Regions from separate parts of the Homo sapiens genome. Here all the other regions are linked to region 3. Evidence: promoter capture Hi-C in 16 types of primary human blood cells and fetal thymus (Javierre and others, 2016). All regions are on one chromosome and are shown on one strand. The core of a region is centred on a gene start or on the middle of the fragment in contact, and the rest is flanking DNA. Distances in the headings are between cores, read along the strand shown.

Region 1 (3,206 bases), core at 496-2,995, 110 kb after region 3:
CCCATTGGTGGCAAGGGGCTGTGATCTGTTTGTTATTCTCCTCCACTTTCAAGGGAGTGGCAGTCCTCTCCAGGACCCCCTTCACCCCATTCTAGATCTTGATTCCTTCTCTCTGTTGGGGTGGGAGGAGGCTGGATCAAGAGGCTCCTCGCACTGCTGCTGCTCCTGTTCTCTGGGTGGCATGTGTCCATTGCTGGCTCTCCTATGGTTTCTGTTGGTGCCACCGCTCCCTGAGGTAGGAGGTCTGACTACAGATCCCCATCTTGCACTGCCACTCGTCTCTGGCAGTGCCCAGTAGTCTCTGTGGCAGAGTCTCTAGTAGTCTCTGTGGCAGAGACTACTAGCTGTTTCCAAATAATGGCTGGATCTTTCTTCCTTTTAGTAATAATACTGCTACCCTGGTTCAGATCCAGCTAGATCAACGTAACCATTTTAGCTCTACATAACCATTTTAGCCTCCCATATAGCTTGGAGATGGCCTTATGGCAAAGTTTCTGCCCACATAGATGGCTGCAATGTGAACTGGAGAACATTCTCATCAACCTCAGAGACAAGAGCAACACCCAGCGGGTGGCAGAACAACACGAGAGATAACCCAAGAATACCTACAAGTTTGGGATATTTTAAAAGGAGAGAGAAGCTTTGATGTTTTTTAAGCCTATGTTATTTTTGTCCGCTGAATAATCGTAACTCATGTCTTTGCCTCATAGGCTGTCTCTCTGTGTAAGGGTCTGGCAAGGTAGCTGCAGCCCAGGTACCTTCCATGATGTTGAGGAGAGACTCTCCTATCCTCACCACACCAGAGAGTAGGTATGCAGGTTGCCACCAGTGTTCTCCTCCCTACCCACTCCCTCACTTTTCTTTTCATTGGTTCAGTAGAAGGAGGGGCTGTGCAGTAAGTCTGCCGCTTGAGCACAGGGACAGCTGTCACTGCAGTGCTGGTCTCCTGTTCTTGGAGGCACCTCAGTCTCCTTGACCTCTTAGACACCCTCCTACCCCCAAGGTGGGGAAGGAGCAAGCAGAGGCAAAATCCCAGCCCTCCTTGTTAAGACTACAGTGACTTTCCTCCTCTCCCTTCTCCGTGTCCGTAATGCATAGCTGGAAGGAAGTGTCTGGGTGGTGATGCCAGTAGCTGTGCTGGTGCCATGCCAGGTGCTCTTCATGAGCACCAAAGGAGGGCAGGCTCAGGTTTGTTGCTGTCTTTAGAATCTGGGGTTCTCGATAGTCTTTGCCCTCAGGTTGGATCTCAGTCTCCAGATTGTGGGTAGCAGGTCAGTCCCACTTCCTGTCTCATTACAAGATGTCATATTTCAGAATAATCTTGTTAATGGTTTTATTAACAAATGTTATTTTAGGACAGATTTCATGAAGTGTTATTTTATGCCACTAAATAAATCATAAGCTTAATTGCTACAGTCTGGGTAGAAGCATATTTGTTTTACAGTATAAGCCTCACTAACTGATTTAATGGAGTAGCCAAAAGCAATTTCAAGTACTTCCATATATTACAAATGATCAATCTTTGTTGTTTCTAAGATAAGATATAACTGAAATAAAATGTTTACATGACATTATTTAAATTTAATTATATTTAATTCCTATAAAATGGAAGATAAAATGCCAGAACTTAGAGCTTATGTATTTTTAAAATAGAGCTGCGTAACTTATAGAGCCTCAATTCATGAGCAACTAGCTTGCTTTTTGAAAATGAAAAAGAGAAAAAAGATGACAGTTTCCAAGTTAATTCACATTATACTTTTGATTATAAATAATAAATGTCATTTCTAAATGATCACTTTGCTGTGTACCAAGTTAGCACTTGATAGTTGAAAATAAAAATTATTTTATGACTACTAACTTGTAAGGAGGCAGTATAAATAGCTTTTATATGAAAAAATAGATATATATGCCCAGGCATATTTAATCACTAAAAATTGCTTATCAGGACAGTCATGGAAATATCCTTCTGTAACAGTTTCTCTCAGATCTATTTCAGACTTATGCATCTGTTACTATATTTATCTTTATCTTAATCAGCCCTTGCTGTGAGGTTTGGTTATTTTATTACAAGCAGCTGGGCAAAGCTTTTTCTTTTAAAAACTACATTCTTTTGTAGTGCTGCCATCACTCACATTACACACTTGGACAGCAAAAGCACGTAAACAGTAGAACTAGATGAAATACTTGATGTCACTATATTTCATGATACTGTAACAGAAACCACTCCTTCGGGACGATATAACATGAAAGCATTACAATTTTTAAAAATCTTAACAAAAGATACAGTCAGTGTATGGATGATCGCTCTTAGAGTTTTTGAACATGAAACTTCTTTTCTTATGCTGGGTTTAACTGTGACTATATTTACTCATCTGAGGGTTAATATCATGCCAACATTTAACTAGTTTGCTCTGATACTAATATATACATACTAGTGTTTAGTGACTTTATAAGATTATTAGAAGTCTACAATTCCAAACCTCTGGCCGAGATGAGAACTTTTTAAATATATAAACCCTTTTATAAATCTAACCTTACACTTTATTCCAACTTTGGTATGACAGTTTGAAATGTTTTCAATTCCAGGCTATAAATTCCAGATTCAGTTTTCCTTTGAGTTTATGCTGTATACCAGGTCCTGGGGTAGGAATTATTCCATTGTCTCTTAGTTTTATGTCAAGTCTAAAAGGTAGGTTACTCCCATATCAAAAATATGGAAACTGAGTCTTAGAACCTTTTCCAAGGTCACATAGGTAATTAAGGATATATTGATTGTCCCATTCTGCCATTTAGGATTTTTGTTAGTTAAGAGATGTGCTGTGATATTAGGAAAATGATGTTCAGTGTAAACATATTGTTGCATTGATGTCATACGAATGGTTGCCAATATAGGCAGTTCTTGACATGTTTTATTAACTGAAGAGATATGGACAGCTTGCTATTTTAGATTACCCATCTCTTATGTTTAGAATTCGTTTTTGTTTCTACTATCACACTTTTAATTTAGTCTTCTGTTACCTGCCCTCAGAGCTAATCCAGCATCTTACAGTTAAACTCTGGAATTCTATCCTCCATACATTTATATCCATGATTGCTAAATGAACTTTACATCAAAACCAGTGGTTCACATTGCTTACTAAAGAAAGCATAAGCTCATCCTGGCATTGAACACTTTATTTTCATTGCTCAGTTTTGCCCTTCCCATC
Region 2 (2,935 bases), core at 73-2,572, 130 kb after region 3:
ATCACATTTAGAGGTGACAGCATCCTGGAAGAAGACCTGTGTATTCCTGAATGTCTTTATTTCAGTGAAGAATATCTTTCCTAGAAGACCCCTGCAGACATAGCTTTATTGAAGGAAGGGTAGGGTGAATAGTGGTAGAACAGGAACAGGTGACTTATAAAATGTGGTTGGCTGCACCTGAGCAGCTGAACAGCCTCAGTGAGCACCTGTCCAGGTCTTGCTGACATTTGTCTAAACAGTCTCCCTAAGTGATCTTATTCAGGACCTTGGTTTTGAATGCTACCTGTATGATACTAATCATTGGTAAACCTTATTCTCTGTGTCCAGTCTCACACATGACTGCTCCACTCTTATGTGTAAAAGATACATTATACTTACCTTGGCCAGAGCACAGCTTCCCCCTCCTCCATTCTTGTCAGTGTTCATAATATCGGACACTCACACACTCAGGCTAAAAATCTAGCCATTAGATTGATTTTCCTTTCTCCCAGCATCCATTTAACTAGCATTTCAGACAACACTTATTCCAAGTCCTCCACATCTCTCTCCCTACCTTGCGCTGTCTCGGTCCAAGCTGCCATCCTGTTGTACTTGGGTGACAGCAGTAGCTGCCTACTGGGCACCCTGTTCTGATTTTGCCCCTATCATCTCTTCTCCCCCAATCTTACAAATGATCTTTTTAAAGTGCAGATCAAATTATGTCACTTGCTGCTCAAAATCCTCCAGTGCCTTTGTGTCACTTTGCCTAGGGTAAAATGTAAACTTCTACTCCGCTTACCCAAGCTCCTGTCCTGCTCCTCCTCACATCCTTTCCTATGAGCCACAGTGGTCTCCTTCAATGGGCCATACTCTGCCTCATCTTTACATCTTTGTACCAGCTGAGCTCATCACTGGGTGTTCTTCCTGATCTTCATTTGGATGTCTGGTTATATTTCAGACATTGGCCTCACCTTTATCAAGCAGGCCTTCTCCAACCACCCAATCTAAATTAGTCATCTAGTGTGCTGTCTCAGAACTCTCTTCCCTGCCTGAAATTCTCTGTGTAACACTCCTCACAGTCTCTTCTCTCTGGCCCATTGCTTCTTGCCATTTGTCTTTGCTCTCCTTCTGCAGAATGGTAAGGAATGGTCTATCTTACTCAGCACTGTGGGTTCAGCACCTAGGACAGTGCCTGGCACTTGTTAGGTTAATCAATAAATTATTTATTGAACTTAAATAAGCTTTATTTGGAAAAAGTAAAACGGATAAACTCCCATTCAGTTTCATCTGACTTTTTTAAAGAGAAAGAAAACTAATAGCTCTATTATTGTATGATTCGTCTTTTTGGAGAGTAAGCAATAGAAATTGACTCTGGCTACCCTAAATGAAAAGGAAATTTATTGTAAGTCTCCTGAAATCAATAGATGGATAGAGATTGAAGCTTAGAGCACAAACTGGAACCCAGGAGCCCCAGAACTAGACAGTCTATACCATGGCAGGTCTGCACGTCACTGCCCTGTGCTCTTTGTGAGCTTGGCAAATCTCCATGCCATGAGGTTGCCCATTCAGACTGTCAGTCCTGGAAGCAGCATCCAGCAGGCCAGACCTGATGTAGACGCCTGTCCAGCTGTGTCAGGGCAGAGGAGGCAGCTCTGGCTCTTGGGCTTCAGTTGCAGGGATCCTCTACTGTCCAAGGCTGATACAGTGGAGAGAGGGGTGGCCAAAGGGGTCTCCAAAAGCAAGACCGGGATTTTAATGGGGGCAGTGGATGTTGAGCAGCCAAAACATGGCCAACATTCAAATCATTTGGGGAACTTGTTTAGAAGTCTCTCTCTGAGCTTGTTGGAGCTCCACCACAAATAGTACAAACATCTGCCTACCCCCGTCTTCTTAGTTCATGACCATAATTCTCCCTCAAATCTCTGAGGAATCAAAATGGAATCACTGGTGTTAAAAATAACCCTGACAAATAGAATTGAGAAGCCCATGAAAAGAGGGTTCTTATGCTTGTATGCCTGATAACTAAAACCATCACAAAACACTCTGCAAAAACCACAACCTTACATGAAGGCCATTGTAACCTTATACAGAAGACACTTCTGCAAGGATGTCTGTTCAACTGCCTGTCCAGCCTCAGGCTGGCGTTACTTGTTATTGATCTTTGTAGCCAAGGATAATTATTTTGAAACAGTTACGTAATCTTCATTTTTTCCTCTAAAAACCTTTGTCTTCCTTTATCTCCCTGAATATACACATTGTTTATGGCATACGCATTCCTGTTGCAATGCTTTATTCCCAGATTCCTTTTAGAGGCCCTCTCCCTGTTTTTTATTTAGGTTGACAAGCTCAAATCTTCATTAGAGAATGACAGTCCCATACCACTGTTTCTCAGAAGATGCTCTCAGATGTTCAGTGGCTTCTTGTCCCCCTCAGAGTAAACCCCAGGTCCTTTTGGGCCCATGGGACCCACAGGATCTGCCCCTGCTGTGCACTTCAGCCACACTGGACCTCCTTGTGCTCCACAAGTGAATCAGTTGCAATTCCCACAAAACCTGTGCCCTTCGTGTTCCTCCTGGAGATGCATTCCCCAGACCTGTGTGGGAATCCTTGCTACCTCCTGCCTCAGCTCCAGTGTCACCTGCTCAGAGCCCTTCCCTGGCCATCCTGTCTTAACTGTGCCCATCCCCACTCCATCTCCCCCCGCTTTCTTACTCTCTGTGTGTATTTCTTTCTTTATTGCGAGGCTTCCCATGACAGTGTTGAACGCCAGGGGCCAGGGGCTTTGTTTTGTTCATGGATGTATCCATGTACCAAAACAGGGTCCCTCCATAGTGATGCTTCAATGAGTGAAAAAATGGGTTGTCATCTGTGAAATTAGTTTTAAAGGAGGAATTCCAAAATGGTCCTAAACAACAAGTAGACAGCATGTGAGGTGATGATTGCAATTACTTACTTG
Region 3 (2,932 bases), core at 162-2,661:
CTACTAAAAATACAAAAATTACCCAGGTGTGGTGGTGTGTGCCTGTGATCCCAGCTACTCAGGAGGCTGAGGTGGGAGGATCATTTGAGCCTGAGATGCAGAGGTTGCAGCGAGAGGCGATCACACCACTGCACTCCAGCCTGGCCGACAGAGCCAGAACCTGTCAAAAAATAAAAAATAAAAATAAAAATAAAAGTGCCTTCAACATCATTTTACAGCAGATGCAGTAATGGAATTCAGTCTACTTTTTGTTTCTACATTGGATAAAAGTTGAGGACATAATGAAGGATGTTTTGCTTAGGACTAAAAAATACAAGAAATTTCTGTGGCACTAGACGTATGCTCATAGCAGCACACTTTTCAAACAGTATTCTTTTTTTTTTTTTTTTTTTTTTTTGAGACAGAGTTTCACTCTTGTTGCCTGGACTGGAGTGCAATGGTGCAGTCTCAGCTCAGGGCAACCTCCGCCTCCCGGGTTCAAGCAATTCTCCTGTCTCAGCCTCCCGAGTAGCTGGGATTACAGGCGTGTGCCGCCACACCTGGCTAATTTTGTATTTTTAGTAGAGACAGGGTTTCACCACGTTGGCCCGGCTGGTCTCAAACTCCTGACCTCAGGTGATCCACCTGCCTCGGCCTCCCAAAGTGCTTGGATTACAGGCGTGAGCCACCGCCCCCTGCCCAGTATTCTTAAATGCAAGCTTTCCCATTAGAGATCTGATAAAAGCTAGGTAGCATTAATTATACTGCAACGTGCTTTGATGAGTACCTACACACTAAATTGATATCCCGAGTTTCTGGAAGAGCTACATACTCTAAATCCCATCTCAGCGTATGGCTTGTTTGAACCCCTGTAAGACTCTTTCCGTCCAGGAAGGGCCATGGGACATCGGTACGAGTGGGTGGGCTGGAGAAAGAACTCCTTTGCCTGTTTGCTGTTCTCATCCTTTTCCTGAACGCCACGTAGTAAACATCATTTATGCTTATCAGGGACGCTAAACCAACAACCTGAGATCCATAAGTAAGGCAGTGACCAACGATGGGCTGCCACACTTTCAGCCAACTTGAGGAGACAAAACTTTTTTGTTCACTTTTGCAGCTTACTTAACACAGGACCGCAGGGCATGGTCCAGGGAGTACGGGGAGATAATTCCCTCCGGGTGGTTCTTATAGAAAAGTCTTCCCTGAATTATTCCATAACCTTGGAAAACTACTTTCTTTCCTTTTGTATTGGACAAACCATCCAATCTCGCTTGGAGAATGGGGCAAGGCCTCGGGTCACCGGGCTTCGGCGGGGCAGTGAGGGGCGGGAACACGGCTCCGGAGGGCGGGGCCAAGCCGGAGCGAGGCGGCGGGTCCGGACGCCGTGCGCGTGCGCGCGGCAGGTCGGCGCCGGGCGGGGGCGGAGCGGCCGTCGCAGGTCCACGCCGTAAACAGACAACATGGCGGCCGCGGTGGCGGCGGCACCTGGGGCCTTGGGATCCCTGCATGCTGGCGGCGCCCGCCTGGTGGCCGCTTGCAGTGCGTGGCTCTGCCCGGGGTTGAGGCTGCCCGGCTCGTTGGCAGGCCGGCGAGCGGGCCCGGCGATCTGGGCCCAGGGCTGGGTACCTGCGGCCGGGGGTCCCGCCCCGAAAAGGGGCTACAGCTCTGAGATGAAGACGGAGGACGAGCTGCGGGTGCGGCACCTGGAGGAGGAGAACCGAGGTGAGGTGCGAACGCTGGGCAGGCGCGGGGCAGCGGGCGGCCGCTCGCTCTCAGGACGGGCATAAGGTGCAGCGTCCGCCGGCAGGACGCGGGGTCGAGGTCAGGCAGGCGCACCGAACCTGGGTCCCTCCCCTTTCTCACCTCCCTACTCACCCAGCGTGGCCGCTTCCTTGTGCACCTATTTCTTGCTTTTAATAACCTAAACGTGTACCCCCGAGCAGCTTACCTGTAAAGTGACCGCATTCAGCGCGGCAAACAGAAGTGCAGCTTACGCCCTCCGCTCCAGACAAGCCAAGGTCAATATATACCCTGGGGATTTAATCCTTGCTACCAGGCTTTATTGTTGCTGTGTAATGGCTTTCTGTAAACTCAGCTATTAGTGGTGGAGTTGTAAAAGCTGCGGTGAAACTGCCTTTTATTATTACGGAGAATCTTAAATTTGAAGCTGCTCAGCTGGAACAATTTTTCCTCTTGTTCATTTTCTCTTAGAAAGTTAGTCTTGAGGGACTGTTCCACTTCATTTAAACAATTTTGAGCACTTTTTATTTTCCTCAGCTCTGGCGATAAGAATGTGGATGGTATGGATCTTGCCCTTGAGCTACCTTCTACGGGAGGAGACATCATTAGCAATACAATACAGAGCTTTGAAGGCTTTGAAGGAGGCTGACAATCCTAGGGAATACTGTTACAGCTCAGTTCCTTTCACTGGCAGTGCAGGGAAAAGCTAAAAGGGTCGTGAAGGGTGGAATAGCAGTTTCCACCCTTAACCTCCGGGTTAAGCCAGAGGACCAGTGTTTTAATTTTGACATGCATTTGTTGAGCACCTATAATCTGTTAAGCAGAAGTGAAAAGCGTGTAAGTCGTGATTGGTTTTAGTGTAGTGAAGCAGATCCTGGTTATTAGTAGGCTGTGTGAACTTTCAAGGCATGGTAAGAGGAAAGGGCTGTAATACCTGCAGGGTTTCGCCATTTGAAAGGGGTTCCAAGGCATTCTTTAATAGGCAGTGGATTTTGCCATTTGTGAGGGTTCTTGGGCAGACTTATCTCACGTGTAAAACAGGAAAAACAATACCAACTTTATAGGTTTGTTATGAAGATGAGATGAGATTGTTAATGTAAATTGCCACTAGCACGTAGCAGTGCTTCAGGAGTGTGATGAATGACTTTATTCCTTACTTATTATTCCAGACAGAGACAAGAACATGGTCAAAGGCATGGAGATGTGAACATGT
Region 4 (2,886 bases), core at 272-2,771, 75 kb before region 3:
CCCCTTTCTGGGCATATACCCAAAGGAAATAAAGTCACCATTTCATAAAGGTATGTGCACGCCCGTGTTTACTGCAGCACTACCCACAATAGCCAAGATATGGAAACAACCTGTGTGTCTGTAGAGATACAAATAGTTAAGAAACTGTGCTACATACATATAGATAAAGACATATTATTTTGCCTTTAAAAAAGGAGATCCTGCCATTTGTCACAACATGCAGAAACCTGGAAGTTTGTGCTAAGTGAAATAAGCTAGACACACACACAAAAATACATGATCTCATTTACATGTGGAATTTTTTAAAGAGTCATATATACAGAGATAGGGAATAAGACACTGCTTACCAGGGGTGGGGCTAGGGAGGTAGAAAGGAAATGGGGAGATGTAGGTCAGAGGACACAAAGTAACAGACATGTAGGATGAACAAGTCTAGAGATCAAATGTACGTGAAGATTACAGATAATAAAATTGTACTGTATTTGTGATTCCTGCTAAATGAGTAGACTTTAGCTATTCTTGCCACAAAAACTAACAAAAGTGTAACTGTGTGAGATGACGAATATGTTAATCTGCTTCTTTATAGTGACCATTTTACTATCTACATGTATCCCACAATATATTTACATCTTAAGTATAAATGATTAAATTTATTTTCTTAAAAATGGTCAACAGGCAAATTTTGTTATATATGTATTCCTGATCCAAAAAATATAACATGTAATACATCAAATACCATTGAATCGTGCACTTTACATGGGTAAATTGTATGGATGTGAATTATAACTCAATAAAGCTGTTTTAAAAAAGAGATTTAGGACAGTGTTCTTTAATCCCCAGGCCACAGACCGGTACTGATCCCTGGCCTGTTAGGAACTGGCCCGCACAGCAGGAGATGAGCGGTGGGCGAGCAAGCATTACTGCCTGAGCTCAGCCTCCTGTCAGAGCAGCGGAAGCATTAGATTCTCATAGGAGTGTGAACTCTACTGGGAACTGCGCATGCGAGGGATCTAGGTTGCGCACTCCTTATGAGAATGTAACTCCTGATGATTCGACACGGAACAGTTTTATCCTGAAACCATCCCCCAAAACCCTTGCACGTGGAAAAATTGTCTTCCACGAAACCGGTCCCTGCTGCCAAAAAAGGTTGGGGACTGCTGATTTAGGGGATAGTGTCAGTAGGAAATTGTAACTGACTATATATGAAGGATGTAGTGAACATTTGTCACTTTATGGCTACTTGGCAGAGGAACCTCTTCCTATTTTGGGTTATAGAGCCTGTCTCCAATCAGAGAAGTTGAAGATCTTCTATTAATTTTCCCAGACTCTTGGTAGCCAGGGTCCTGGCATATGACGTAGGTCCTGCCAATCAGACATACTTAACTCCTCCTTAGCTCCCCACCTTCAACTCTTTGTTGTTGTTGTTGTTGTTGTTGTTGTTGTTGTTGTTGTTGTTGAGGCAGAGTCTTGCTCTGTCGCCCAGGCTGGAGTGCAGTGGCGCCATCTCGACTCACTGCAAGCTCCGCCACCCGGATTCACGCCATTCTCCTGCCTCAGCCTCCGGAGTAGCTGAAACTAAAGGTGCCCGCCACCACGCCCGGCTAATTTTTTGTATTTTTAGTAGAGACGAGGTTTCACCGTGTTAGCCGGGATGGTCTCTATCACCTGACCTCGCGATCCGCCCGCCTTCGGCCTCCCAAAGTGCTGGGATTACAGGCGTGAGCCACCGCGCCCGGCCCCACCTTCAAATCTTAATCAGAAAATGGTAATGTGAAGAAATGGAGATCATGCAGGCTCTTTCCCTGGGGCAGTGCCTGTGAAGGTGGCTGTATCCTGTTTGCAGGAGCTTTCTTTCTGGTAGCAGCATTGGAGGAGTGTGCCATGCAGATGCAGTTTCTCTGTCCTACAGCAGAGACAGCAGTGCCTGCGGGAGATCAATTCTGCAGTTTGATTTGGGGCATAGCTTCCGGCTTTTTAGCCTTCAAACCTGACTTGCCACAGATTCTGTGAGTTGCCTGGAGTTTTTTGGGTTTTTTTGTTTAGTAAATTACTGTTCTGCTCATATTAGCCAAAATCGGTCTGTGTTGCTTGCAACAAAGTACCCTGAATGCTGTAAAAAATTGCTCCCAGATTCTCAGCAAGTTGAGTGAACTATGGGATGTACAAGATGTAACTGAAGGAAGTAAAAATCCAGCTAGTATTAAAGGGAAGAGTTCTGATAGTACCTGGCATGCATAGATGAAATGTTAATTAGATTATAAGCTGTAGGCACATGGAATAAACTGTTCACTGAAAGTCTCAGTAAGGGACCCTGGTTGACCACTGTCACAGAATAGAATGGTAGTCATGAAGACCATGTGGCAAAATCATAGTCCTCACTTCACCAAGGCAGACCTTTCTTCCTACACTCCTCAGTTTCAGGCGCAGGCAGATGTCTCTAAAACTGATTCAGTGCCAAACGGAGCCATCATCCAGCCTCTAGAGGCAGGTGGACTCGGTCAGGCTTCATGAGGACCATGATGAAATGGCACTCAAGTTCCATTTCAACCTCCTTTGAGTGGCCTTTTATGTACCATAGAATTTGAATTCCACATTTACTAGTCTCTCTTGCAACTGGTATTCTGGATGCAAATTAAGATAAAATTTGATGGTGAAAGAGAGGTGAGGCACACTTCCTGTTGAGTTAGCAATTGCTGCAGGCAGGCAAGGTCATAGAGATGTTGGAGTTTTCTGACCAGCAGCTCCAGGGGCCTGATGATTGTATTATTGTATAAGTCAGTTGCAGCAAGCGTTTTTATCACAATTCTCACAACTCTGGGTTCTGATCATTTAGAGGACTGAATATCCAAGGAGGGTGATGCTTCCACTACTTGACATAGCAAATAC

Evidence for each region. The method cuts DNA at HindIII sites, captures the fragments that hold promoters and counts their contacts. A CHiCAGO score of 5 or more calls a contact.
Region 1: a fragment that was not itself captured here is called in contact with the fragment with the promoter of AUH in region 3 in 2 of 17 cell types (activated CD4 T cells and megakaryocytes); the score reaches 5.3 in activated CD4 T cells.
Region 2: a fragment that was not itself captured here is called in contact with the fragment with the promoter of AUH in region 3 in 1 of 17 cell types (activated CD4 T cells); the score reaches 6.2 in activated CD4 T cells.
Region 4: a contact is called between a fragment that was not itself captured here and the fragment with the promoter of AUH in region 3, in 1 of 17 cell types (neutrophils). The highest score is 6.2, in neutrophils.

What each region holds. Positions count from the first base shown.
Region 1 is chr9:91,254,382-91,257,587 of GRCh38, reverse strand. The region is part of intron 6 of AUH (AU RNA binding methylglutaconyl-CoA hydratase); the gene reads left to right. Among named protein-coding and RNA genes, the nearest start is that of LINC02937, 93 kb to the right of the region's middle. The HindIII fragment of the contact is 682 bases long and covers 1,405-2,086 here.
Region 2 is chr9:91,232,915-91,235,849 of GRCh38, reverse strand. All of the region lies in intron 6 of AUH (AU RNA binding methylglutaconyl-CoA hydratase), which reads left to right. Among named protein-coding and RNA genes, the nearest start is that of LINC02937, 71 kb to the right of the region's middle. The HindIII fragment of the contact is 200 bases long and covers 1,223-1,422 here.
Region 3 is chr9:91,360,397-91,363,328 of GRCh38, reverse strand. It overlaps AUH (AU RNA binding methylglutaconyl-CoA hydratase), which reads left to right and starts at 1,411. Exons shown (of 10, transcript NM_001698.3): 1 at 1,411-1,701. The coding sequence starts at 1,440. RefSeq lists a silencer at 1,241-1,680. The HindIII fragment of the contact is 2,357 bases long and covers 701-2,932 here.
Region 4 is chr9:91,435,148-91,438,033 of GRCh38, reverse strand. It overlaps a transcript of NFIL3 not described here. Among named protein-coding and RNA genes, the nearest start is that of NFIL3, 13 kb to the right of the region's middle. The HindIII fragment of the contact is 6,179 bases long and covers 1-2,886 here.